Regions from separate parts of the Homo sapiens genome. Here region 2 is linked to region 1. Evidence: promoter capture Hi-C in 16 types of primary human blood cells and fetal thymus (Javierre and others, 2016). All regions are on one chromosome and are shown on one strand. The core of a region is centred on a gene start or on the middle of the fragment in contact, and the rest is flanking DNA. Distances in the headings are between cores, read along the strand shown.

Region 1 (5,052 bases), core at 1,587-4,086:
CTGTAAAATACGAATAATAATAGTACCTACCTCCAAAAGTAGTTGTAAGAATAAATTGAGATAATGTATACGTCCTGGCACATAATAAATTCTCAATAAATGTTAACTTTTTTTTTTTTTTTTTTGAGACGGAGCTTTGCTCTTGTCGCCCAGGCTGGCGTGCTGTGGCACGGTCTCGGCTCACTGCAACCTCCTCCTCCCAGGTTCAAGTGATTCCTCTGCCTCCGCCTCCTGAGTAGCTGGGATTATAGGTGCCCGCCACCACACCCAGCTAATTTTTGTAATTTTAGTAGAGACAGGGTTTCACCATGTTGGCCAGGCTGGTCTCGAACTCCTGCACTCAGGTGATTCGATCACCTCGGCCTCCCAAAATGCTAGGATTACATGCGTGAGTCACCATGCCCGGCCAATAAACGTTAACTTTTAAGGTCCTGTTCCTGAGACTGCAAGGCCAGGACCAAACTATGGATTATCAAGGTAAATGATATCTAGTCAATGAGCCTACCTCCTCAGAGTGACATCCTCTGCTTCTGTATAGATCACCTTGACATTTCAAACAAGTCACAAATACTTATAATAGTCTCACTTATTTACATATATCTGAGACATACATATTTACTGAATGTTTCCCACAACCCTAAGAGGTAGGTACTAGGAGTATCCCCATTTTACAGATGAAGAAACTGAGGCACAGAGGGGCTAAATAATTTGTCCAGTGAGTAAAAGATGGCTCTGATTTTGTGTTAACTATCTTTTTATTTACTTATTAAACTACCTCTTCTTTCTTATAATCATATCATTAAAGAATGGGTATTTTGCAGTGAGAAAGGGATCCACAACTCACTTTTTCTGTCATCTGTAACAATGTTTTTAAAATGTACTTTCTGCTTAATGAGCTTTGAATCCATCCACAAATACATCAAGTAGCTATACAACGTGGTGGGAAACTTTGTTATTTGCAAATGATAAAACCAAACACAAGGTTGTTCACCAGCTATTACGTAGCAGGCATCACAGAGTACACCTGTAATAGTGCTTTTCCATTACTGAAATTTCAGTACTGGCTCATCTGTTCTCTTGTTTCAAAAATCCAGAAGATGGGAACAAATTTATAAAGACACTTCACAAGGTTATTTATATCTATAAAACCGACTAAGCATGCATTTATTAAGCCCCCAGGTGTTGGGATTGTACTTGGCGAACATCTAAGGCAGTAAAATTACCTTTTCTGTGGTATTCTAGGGTCTACAGGAGCTTTTTTATTTTTGTTTTGAGATGGAGTTTCACTCTTTTGACCTGGCTGGAGTGCAGCGGTGCGATCTCGGCTCACTACAGCCTCCATCTCTCGGGTTCAAGCGATTCTCCTGCCTCAGCCTCCCGAGTAGCTGGGATTACAGGCGCCCGCCACCATGCCAGGCTGACTTTTTTGTATTTTTAGTAGAGACGGGGGTTTCGCTTTTTGGGCGGGCTGGTCTCGAACTACTGACCTCAAGTGATTCGCCCGCTTCGGCCTCCCAAAGTGCTGGGATTACAGACGTGAGCCACCGTGCCCGGCCACAGGAGCTTTTTAGAAGATGTTTTACGCCACACAGTAATGCAACACTGAAAAGACAAGTCGCCTTTTCTCTGCTTTTGCATCTCTTTCCTTAACTTCTGGAAATCTTTAAAGTTTGTCCGCCGTACTTCGACAGTTGTCTACCGAAGATTCTCAGCACATCTACCGGCTGAGCCCTGAATGTGTCTCTGAATTTCTCCCGTTGAAAGTCGAGGTCCCTGGGCTGGGCAGAATCTGGGCATGCGCAGAAGCTCAGCCAACCCCGGGGCTCCGCCTCCCCTCCTCTAGCGAGGGGAAACGGGTGAGCGGCAGCGCGCGTGCGCAAGCTTGGTGGTGGGTTGCGCCTGCAGAGCGCATGGGCAGATAAACCGTACGTCCGTTTGTCCGGACCGGAGGGGCAGTGGGCGCCATCTTCTTCTGGGCTCACTGAGGGTCTACCTGTTTTGGGGAGGCTGCTGCGACGAAGAGTTCCCTCAGCCTCCGGCCTTGTGTGTCCGACTCGGCAGCAGTGGTGTGTGTTTATTGCCAAGTGCGAAGCAGTTCCCCTCGGGGCGCCGGGGGTGGGGAGGGCTGGGCGACCAAGCCGGAAGAACGGGGAAAGGCGGGACCGGCGGCCGCGCCAGTATCTAGCGTAGCTCCTGCCGTTAGGGCACCCTCTTTTCTTGCTAAAACACCGACTCTTCCTTTCCCGTCAGCTTCCATGTGGTGGTGTATGTGCGCTTCCCAGGGATCTTGAGAGTGAAGATCTCGAAGGATTTCATAGGTATATTTTTTTCTTTGCTATGTCATCGTAGTCAGTGGTGGCAGAAAAGCGCTGCAGGCCCAGCTCGTTAGGCTTGAGAAGGGCAAGTGTTTTCAGTTAGATCTGGGGGCAGTTCACCCTCTGGCGAGTTAGGGTGGAATGTTTGCCCTTGAGACGGCGTAACGGAAAGGCACGGAGGTTGGGCGGTCCAGGTTAATTTGAAGGCTGATTTTGGCTGAAAGTCTGGCGACAACATCGGATCCCACGTAGCAACTTTGGCCTGGCGCGAAAGAAGGAAGCTCTGACCCCTGGGAGTTGTGGACAAAGGCTTTGGGCTGTAGAATCGATGCCTTCGGATGATTCCCGTTTGAGGATGTTGGGAGAAATCCTGTGCCATGTGGATTCGTCTTCATTTACAGTTCTTCCTAGGGACTGTGGCTCTCATTGGTCATTCCTTTGGTTTTTATTTTAAACATCTACATTATAAAAGGTGGATCATCGTAAAGAATAATTATGGGTTGGTGTAGATTATTTTCTGCAGGGGAAACTCACGTTTAGAGTGTGAATATGCTACATCATGACCTTGGGCTTTACGAAGTAGTCGCAGAGTTAAAAAAAATTCTCTCCCTCACCATATCTGGAAAATGACTTTTTCTTCGCTAGTTAAAAATCAAATGGATCTGATGAGATATTACTTATTTAAATTCTGTCTCCCTCCCGTTTCCCTCTCTGTATCCCCTTAAGTCTTGATTAGAAGAGGCACGTTACGTATTGTTTAGTTATAATGGTGATTAAGTGGGATGAATCGTTGGATAAAAATAGCAGTTATTTAAAATGCGCTTTAAATTTCACTGACTTAAGTGATCTTTTAGGGACCCACTCTTCTTTTCATAGAAATTTTAACAGATTATTGTCTTCAAATGAACACAAAGGCACAAAAATACTTTTTGCATTCATAACTAGAAAAACGCAAAATTTTAATTGCAGACTACTTGAGGGTAATTTTCGTGTTTTGCTTTTGTGTAATTTAGTGTGTTAAGAGTTGAATTTCTGGAGAATTTGCTTAAGGAAATATAGCATGTTGGAACCACAGAAGTGCCCATTTTGAGAGCTGGTCTCTTACAGTTGGTCTCCAAGGTGTGTTATTGTAGAGGCATAAATGGTACATTACCCTACTGTCTCAAGGGTAGAGAAGTTTAAGCATTAGTTTTGTTTAACTGTGGCAAATGAGAATAAACTTTCTAAATAGTCTGCTTGAATTGGAATTCATGAGATTTGTGCTCATGAAACTACTTGGTTAAAAGATAGTTTTTAAGTGAGGTAGGATAAATTACTAGAGTTTTTTTGAATTTGAGATATAATTATTCCTTGAAACGTCTCTAATTTCTCTTGTAGATGAATTTATGTTCCCAGGGTAAATCCCGTTAAAATTTTTTTAAAAGCTTAGGAGAGACAAGAATATGTATAGCTTATGGTGCTTTCTAAAATATCTTAAAAAGAGTAGCTAAGCCAATTTGCATAGGAGGGAGTCTTGGGACTTTAATATGGATAAAGTAAGTATTCCAGAAGCCATTTGTAGTTTTTGTTGAAGTGTTAGTATGGATATTGGTTTGTTGAAGAAAATAGGCTTTTTTTCTTTTTTTGTTACTGTGCAAATACTTTAATAGCAAACCTGATTAATATTTTTCAGATGTAGAATGTGTGAAGTAATTTGATGTCTTTGCTAGTTTAGCTTCTGGTTAATCTACGTACCCTTTTTTAAAGGAAAACAGACCTCAGTGAATGTATCTTCAGACCCCCACTTTGGGGAACAGTGGTACTTAAGTGTAAGTACTGGATTCTGGATTAACGCAACATTTATTTGTACATTAAAGACATGTAAATTACTCCAGGCGCAGTGGCTCATACCTGTAAATCCTAGCACTGTGGGAGGCTGAGGTGAGCTGATTGCTTGAGCCCATGAGTTCCCTACCAGCCTGGGCAACATGGTGAAACCCTGGCTCTACAAAAAATACAAAAATTAGCCGGGTGTGGTGGTGCACACCTGTAGTCCCAGCTACTGGGGAGGCTGAGGTGGGAGCATTGCCTGAGCCTGGGTAAGTCGAGGCTGTAGTGAGCCAAGATCGCACCAGTGCACTCCAGCCTGGGTAGCAGAGCAAGAGAGACCCTGTCTCCCCCACCAAAGAAAGTGAGTGTAAATTATAATTATTTATTTGGCAAGTCTTCATGAAATAGTTTGGGTATCCCTGAAAGTATTAAACGCAAACTTCTTTAAAAAATTACATTGAGATTTTTCAGTAAACGGGTAATCCCAGTATTCCAAGTTAATTTTTAATTTTACTTTTCTACATCATCATTTGGGTTTCCTTAGTAGAGTGCAGAATAGTTGTTTGAAATGGAAATCTGCTATTGGCATTATTAATAAGATAAATAGCATTTTCTGTTTGGCTTGAGATGAATTGTAACAGTTACTATTTTTGCAATAGGAGTGGTATTGAGATTTTTAACTTTAGGGATATTGTAGTATTTGCCTTAATTATACTGGCTTCATGAAATTTGGTTCTGTGCTTGGATGTATGAGCTGTTTATATAGACCTTTAAATTGTATCCAAACAATAGCCCATAGGTTTGGATTTATTGTTTTAAAAATTGATTTTTGAATTTCAGGCTTTGCTGTTTTATTCATTTATTGTGTAATTTTGAATGGTTGCCTTAATTTGATTTGGTCTTATGTTTTGAAAGGGAGGAGAACAGC
Region 2 (5,052 bases), core at 1,692-4,191, 1.1 Mb before region 1:
GAGGCAAAAGAAATATTTAAAATTTTGATTTAAAAAATAATACACTTGGAAAGATACCATCAGGAAAGTGGAATGACAACCCAAAGACTAGAAGAAAATATTTGCAAATCATGTGTCTGATAAGGGACTTACATCTAGAATATGTAAAGAACTCTTACAACCCAGCAACAACACAGTGAGTAAAGGATTTGAATTGGCCAGGCACGGTGGCTCACGCCTGTAATCCCAGCACTTTGGGAGGCCGAGGTGGGTGGATCACCTGAGGTCAGGAGTTCAAGACCAGCCTGGCCAACATGGTGAAACCTCATCTCTACTAAAAATACAAAAATTAGCCTGGCATGGTGGCGGGCACCTGTAATCCCAGCTACTTGAGAGGCTGAGGCAGGAGAATTGCTTGAACCCACGAGGCAGAGGTTGCAGTAAGCTGAGATTGTGCCACTGCACTCCAGCCTAGGCAACAGAGCGAGACTCCGACAGAGCGAGACTCCATCTCAAAACAAAAAAAAAAAAAAAAAAAAAAGGATTTGAATTGATCATTCTCCAAAGAAGATATTACAAATGGGCAATATGCACATGAAAATGCTCAATATCATTAGTCGTTAAAGAAACACAAATCATCGGCCAGGTGCGGTGGCTCACGCCTGTGATTTCATCACTTTAGGAGGCCGAGGTGGGTGGATCACAAGGTCAGGAGTTCAAGACCAGCCTGGCCAAGATGGTGAAACCCTGTCTTTACTAAAAATACAAAAATTAGCCGGGCATGGTGGTGATGCGTCTGTAATCCCAGCTACTCGGGAGGCTGAGACAGAGAATCACTTGAACCCAGGAGGTGGAGGTTGCAATGAGCTGAGATCATGCCACTGCACTCCAGCCTGGGTGACAGAGTGAGACTGTCTCAAAAAAAAAAAAAAAAAGGAAAGAAAAGAAAAGAAACGCAAATCACTAGCCTGGGCAACAACGTGAGACCCCATCTCTACAAAAAACACAAAAATTAGCCAGGCATGGCGATACATGCCTGTGGTCCCAGCTACCCTGGGAGACTGAGGTGGGAGGATGGCTTGAGCCTGGGAAGCAGGCTGCAGTGAGCTATGATTATGCCACTGCACTCTGGGCTGGGTGACAGAGCGAGACTTTGTCTCAAATAAATACATAAATAAATAAAGCAAAACAAAACTGTGTGAAATACCACTTCACACCCACTAAAATGGCTATGATCAAAAAGACAAAAATAAGTATTGGTGATGATATGAAATTAGAACCTCCATACATGTCAAATGTAAAATGCTACAGCCACTTTTGAAACCAGTTTGGCAGTTTCTCAAAATGTTAAAAATAGGCCGGGCACGGTGGGTCACGCCTGTAATCCCAGCACTTTGGGAGGCCGAGGCGGGCGGATCACCTGAGGTCAGGAGTTCGAGACCAGCCTGACCAACATGGAGAAACCCCATCTCTACTAAAAAATACAAAATTAGCTGGGCTTGGTGGCACATGCCTGTAATCCCAGCTACTCAGGAGGCTGAGGCAGGAGAATCGCTTGAACCCGGGAGGCAGAGGTTGCGGTGAGCCGAGATCGCGCCATTGCACTCCAGCTTAGGCGACAAGAATGAAACTCTGTCTCAAAAAAAAAAAAATGTTAAAAATAGGCTTACCAGATGACTCAGCAATTCCCCTTCTAGGTATGTATCCAAGAGAAAGGAGAAAATGTACCCACACAAAGACTTGAATGTTTAGAACAGCAGTATCTACAGTAGCCTAAAAGTAGAAACCAAGGTCTATAACCTGGTGAATAGACAAATAAAATGTGACATACTCATTGTATCTGTTTCAAGTGGCTGCTGTAACAAATTACCACAAACTTTGTGGTTTAAAACAACAGAAACTGGCCGAGTGCAGTGGCTCACGCCTGTAATCCCAGCACTTTGGGAGGCTGAGGTGGAGAGTCCAGGAATTCAAGACGTATCTGGGCAGCATAGTGAGACTTCTGTCTCTACAAAAAAATCAAAATAAAAAATAAGGCTGGGATGGTGGTGTGCGTCTGTAGTCCTGGCTATGTGGGAAACTGAGGTGGGAGGATTGCTTGAGCCCAAGAGGATGAGGCTACAGTGAGCCGAGATTGCACCACTGCACTCAGGTGGGTGACAGAGTGAGACCCTGTCTCAAAAAAAAAAAAAAAAAGAAAAGAAAGAAAGAATGAGAACAGACTGTGGTCATTCAGACTTGGGTATTTAGCAGACATTTTCTTGAACAAAGTGAGCCTGTCATGTCACTTTATGGAAAACAACTAACACCATTTGTGGCGAATAATAACATTCAATTTTTTTTTTTTTTTTTTGAGATGGAGTTTTGCTCTTGCTGCCCAGGCTGGAGTGCAATGGTGCTATCACCGCTCACTGCAACCTCCACCTCTCAGGTTCAAGCGATTCTCCTGCCTCAGCCTCCCGAATAGCTGGGATTACAGGCACTGCCACCACCACACCTGGCTAATTTTTCTATTTTTAGTAGAGATGGGGTTTCACCATGTTGGCCAGACTGGTCTTGAACTCCTGACCTCAAGTGATCCTCCCACCTTGGCCTCCCAAAGTGCTGGGATTACAGACATGAGCCACCGCTCCTGGCCAACATTCAACTTTTTAAGTAAAATTAGAATTTTAGAAAACTGTAAACTTGGCAGCTTCCCAATACTTGACAAGACTTTTCTGATGACACCAATGGCGATATTAACAAATGTATATTTAAATGTGTCAACTTTCAGATGATCATCACAACTTGACAAATCAATCAATATTTTCCTAATATATGGCTAAAAGATTTATTTAAATTCCAAGACAAGCCGAGCACAGTGGCTCATGCCTGTAATCCCAACACTTTGGGAGGCAGGGGCAGGATGATCACTTGAAACCAGGAGTTGGAGACTGCAGCGAGCTATGATCATGCCACTGTACTCCAGTCTGGGTGACAGAGCGAGACCCTGCCTCTTAAAAGTAAATAAATAAAAAATTTCAGCTGGGCACGGTGGCTCATGCCTGTAATCCCAGCACTTTGGGAGGCCGAGGTGGGAGGATGACGAGGTCAGGAGTTTGGACCAGCCTGGCCAACGTGATCAAACCCTGTCTCTATTAAAAATACAAAAATTAGCTGGCATGGTGGCAGGTGCCTGTAATCCTAGCTACTCAGGAGTCTGAAGCAGGAGAATAGCTTGAACCCGGGAGGCAGAGGTTGCAGTGAGCAGAAATCGCATCACTGTACTCCAGCCTGGGCGACAGAGCAAGACTCCATCTCAAAACAAAACAAAACAAAAAATTTCAAGACAGACTGATGAATTGTAATGGAACGGAATTTGAAAAGTTAATTGGTATGATTTCAGATTTAAAATTGCAGCTAATCTTTAAGAAACAACCACTTTCTCAGGTTTTGGTGAAGAAAGTCCATAATTATCCGAAAAGATATAAAATACTTCTTTTTTTAACTACTCATCTATGTGAGCAATGCCACTCTTCTAGTTTTTAAAATGAAAATAGTTATTTTATATAAAATTGTATTTGTCAGCATGTAATAGGATTATTTTTATTTTTATATGATTATTTTATTTTAATTTAAATAAATTAAATATTTTTAAAACTTCTCAGTGTTAATTTTTAATATGGTAAATATAAACAAACACTCTTTTAAGTGCTTAATAATTTTTTGGTCTAACAGGGCCCTGAGACTAAAAAATCTGAGAAACTATTTTATTGAGGCATGCACATCAAAATCCTACTGTGTTTGGCTCTGAAGAGAAGAGGGAAGGAGGATAGAACAGGGGTGGGTTAGAGAAGGGGAGAGGAGAGGTGAATGGGGGGAAGGAGTGGGGGAGGGGGGTCACAGGTACTTCAACTTTATCTGTATTTTTTTTTTTTGAGACAGAGTCTTGCTCTGTTGCCCAGGCTGGAGTGCAATGGTGCGCTCTTGGCTCGCTGCAACCTCCACCTCCCAGGTTCAAGTGATTCTCCTACCTCAGCCTCCAGAGTAGCTGGGATTACAGGCACGCCACCATGCCTGGCTAATTTTTGTATTTTTAGTAGAGACAGGTTACACTATGTCGACCGGGCTGGTCTCGAACTCCTGACCTCAGGTGATCTACCCGCCTCAGCCTCCCAAAGTGCTGGGATTACAGACGTGAGCCACCGCACCCCGTTCTGGTTTTTGTTTGTTTGTTTTGTGATGGTATCTCTCTGTTGCCCAGGCTGGAGTGCAGTGGCATTTAGCTCACTGCCTCCTTGACATCCTGGGTTCAAGTGATCCTTCTGCCTCAGCCTCCTGAGTAGCTGGGACCACAGATGAATACCACCATGCCCAGCTAATTTATTTATTTTTTTGCAGAGATAGGGTCTTGCTATGTTGCCCACCCAGGCTGATCTGGAGCTCTTGGGCTCCAGTGATCCTCCCACGTTGGCCTCCCAAAGTGCTGGAATTACAGGTGTAAGCCACTGTGCCCAGCCATATATAGATGCTTTTAAAGTCCCTGATATTTCCTCAAAACCCATGAAAAATTCTATGGGCTCATAGAAACAAACTATTATGGAGCATTTGTTACATACCATGACCCAAATTAGGGCCTTTATATCCTCGTTTTCTCATTTGATCTTTCAACATCCTAGAAAGTAGGAATTATGAGCTCACCTTACAGCTGAAGAAGCTGAGGATCAGAGAAGTTATTGTTCTTAATTTTTTTTCTGTGGATTTACAACTATTTAAAAAACAAAAAATCAATAGCACACAAATTTGGTGGAACTTTTATTATAATTGCACCAAATCTATAGATAAACTTGATAATACAGTAATGAGACTCCTTATCTAGGAGCAGAATAAGTAGATCAGTAGCTTCGTCAAAGTCTCCCAGAGAATAAATGTTAGAACCAGGGTTTGGTCCCTGATATGACCTTCGTTAAATTGAACCACTGCTATGGTCTGAATGTTTGTGTTCCCCCCACATTCATGTGTTGAAAACTAGACCATGCATGGTGGCTCACGCCTGTAATCCCAGCACTTTGGGAGGCCGAGGCGGGCGGATCA

The links. Contacts are between HindIII fragments. The CHiCAGO score rates a contact against its expected background, and 5 or more counts as called.
Region 2: a fragment that was not itself captured here is called in contact with the fragment with the promoter of RBM12B-AS1 in region 1 in 1 of 17 cell types (total CD8 T cells); the score reaches 6.0 in total CD8 T cells.

What each region holds. Positions count from the first base shown.
Region 1 is chr8:93,737,895-93,742,946 of GRCh38, reverse strand. It overlaps RBM12B-AS1 (RBM12B antisense RNA 1), which reads right to left and starts at 2,836. Exons shown (of 1, transcript NR_027259.1): 1 at 2,128-2,836. It overlaps RBM12B (RNA binding motif protein 12B), which reads left to right and starts at 1,938. Exons shown (of 4, transcript NM_001377960.1): 1 at 1,938-2,066; 2 at 2,251-2,318. RBM12B-DT (RBM12B divergent transcript) reads right to left here and starts at 1,864. Exons shown (of 2, transcript NR_183450.1): 1 at 1,488-1,864. RefSeq lists an enhancer at 1,912-2,031. The HindIII fragment of the contact is 1,858 bases long and covers 1,884-3,741 here.
Region 2 is chr8:94,816,175-94,821,226 of GRCh38, reverse strand. No RefSeq gene overlaps it. Among named protein-coding and RNA genes, the nearest start is that of INTS8, 4.6 kb to the left of the region's middle. The HindIII fragment of the contact is 7,350 bases long and covers 1-5,052 here.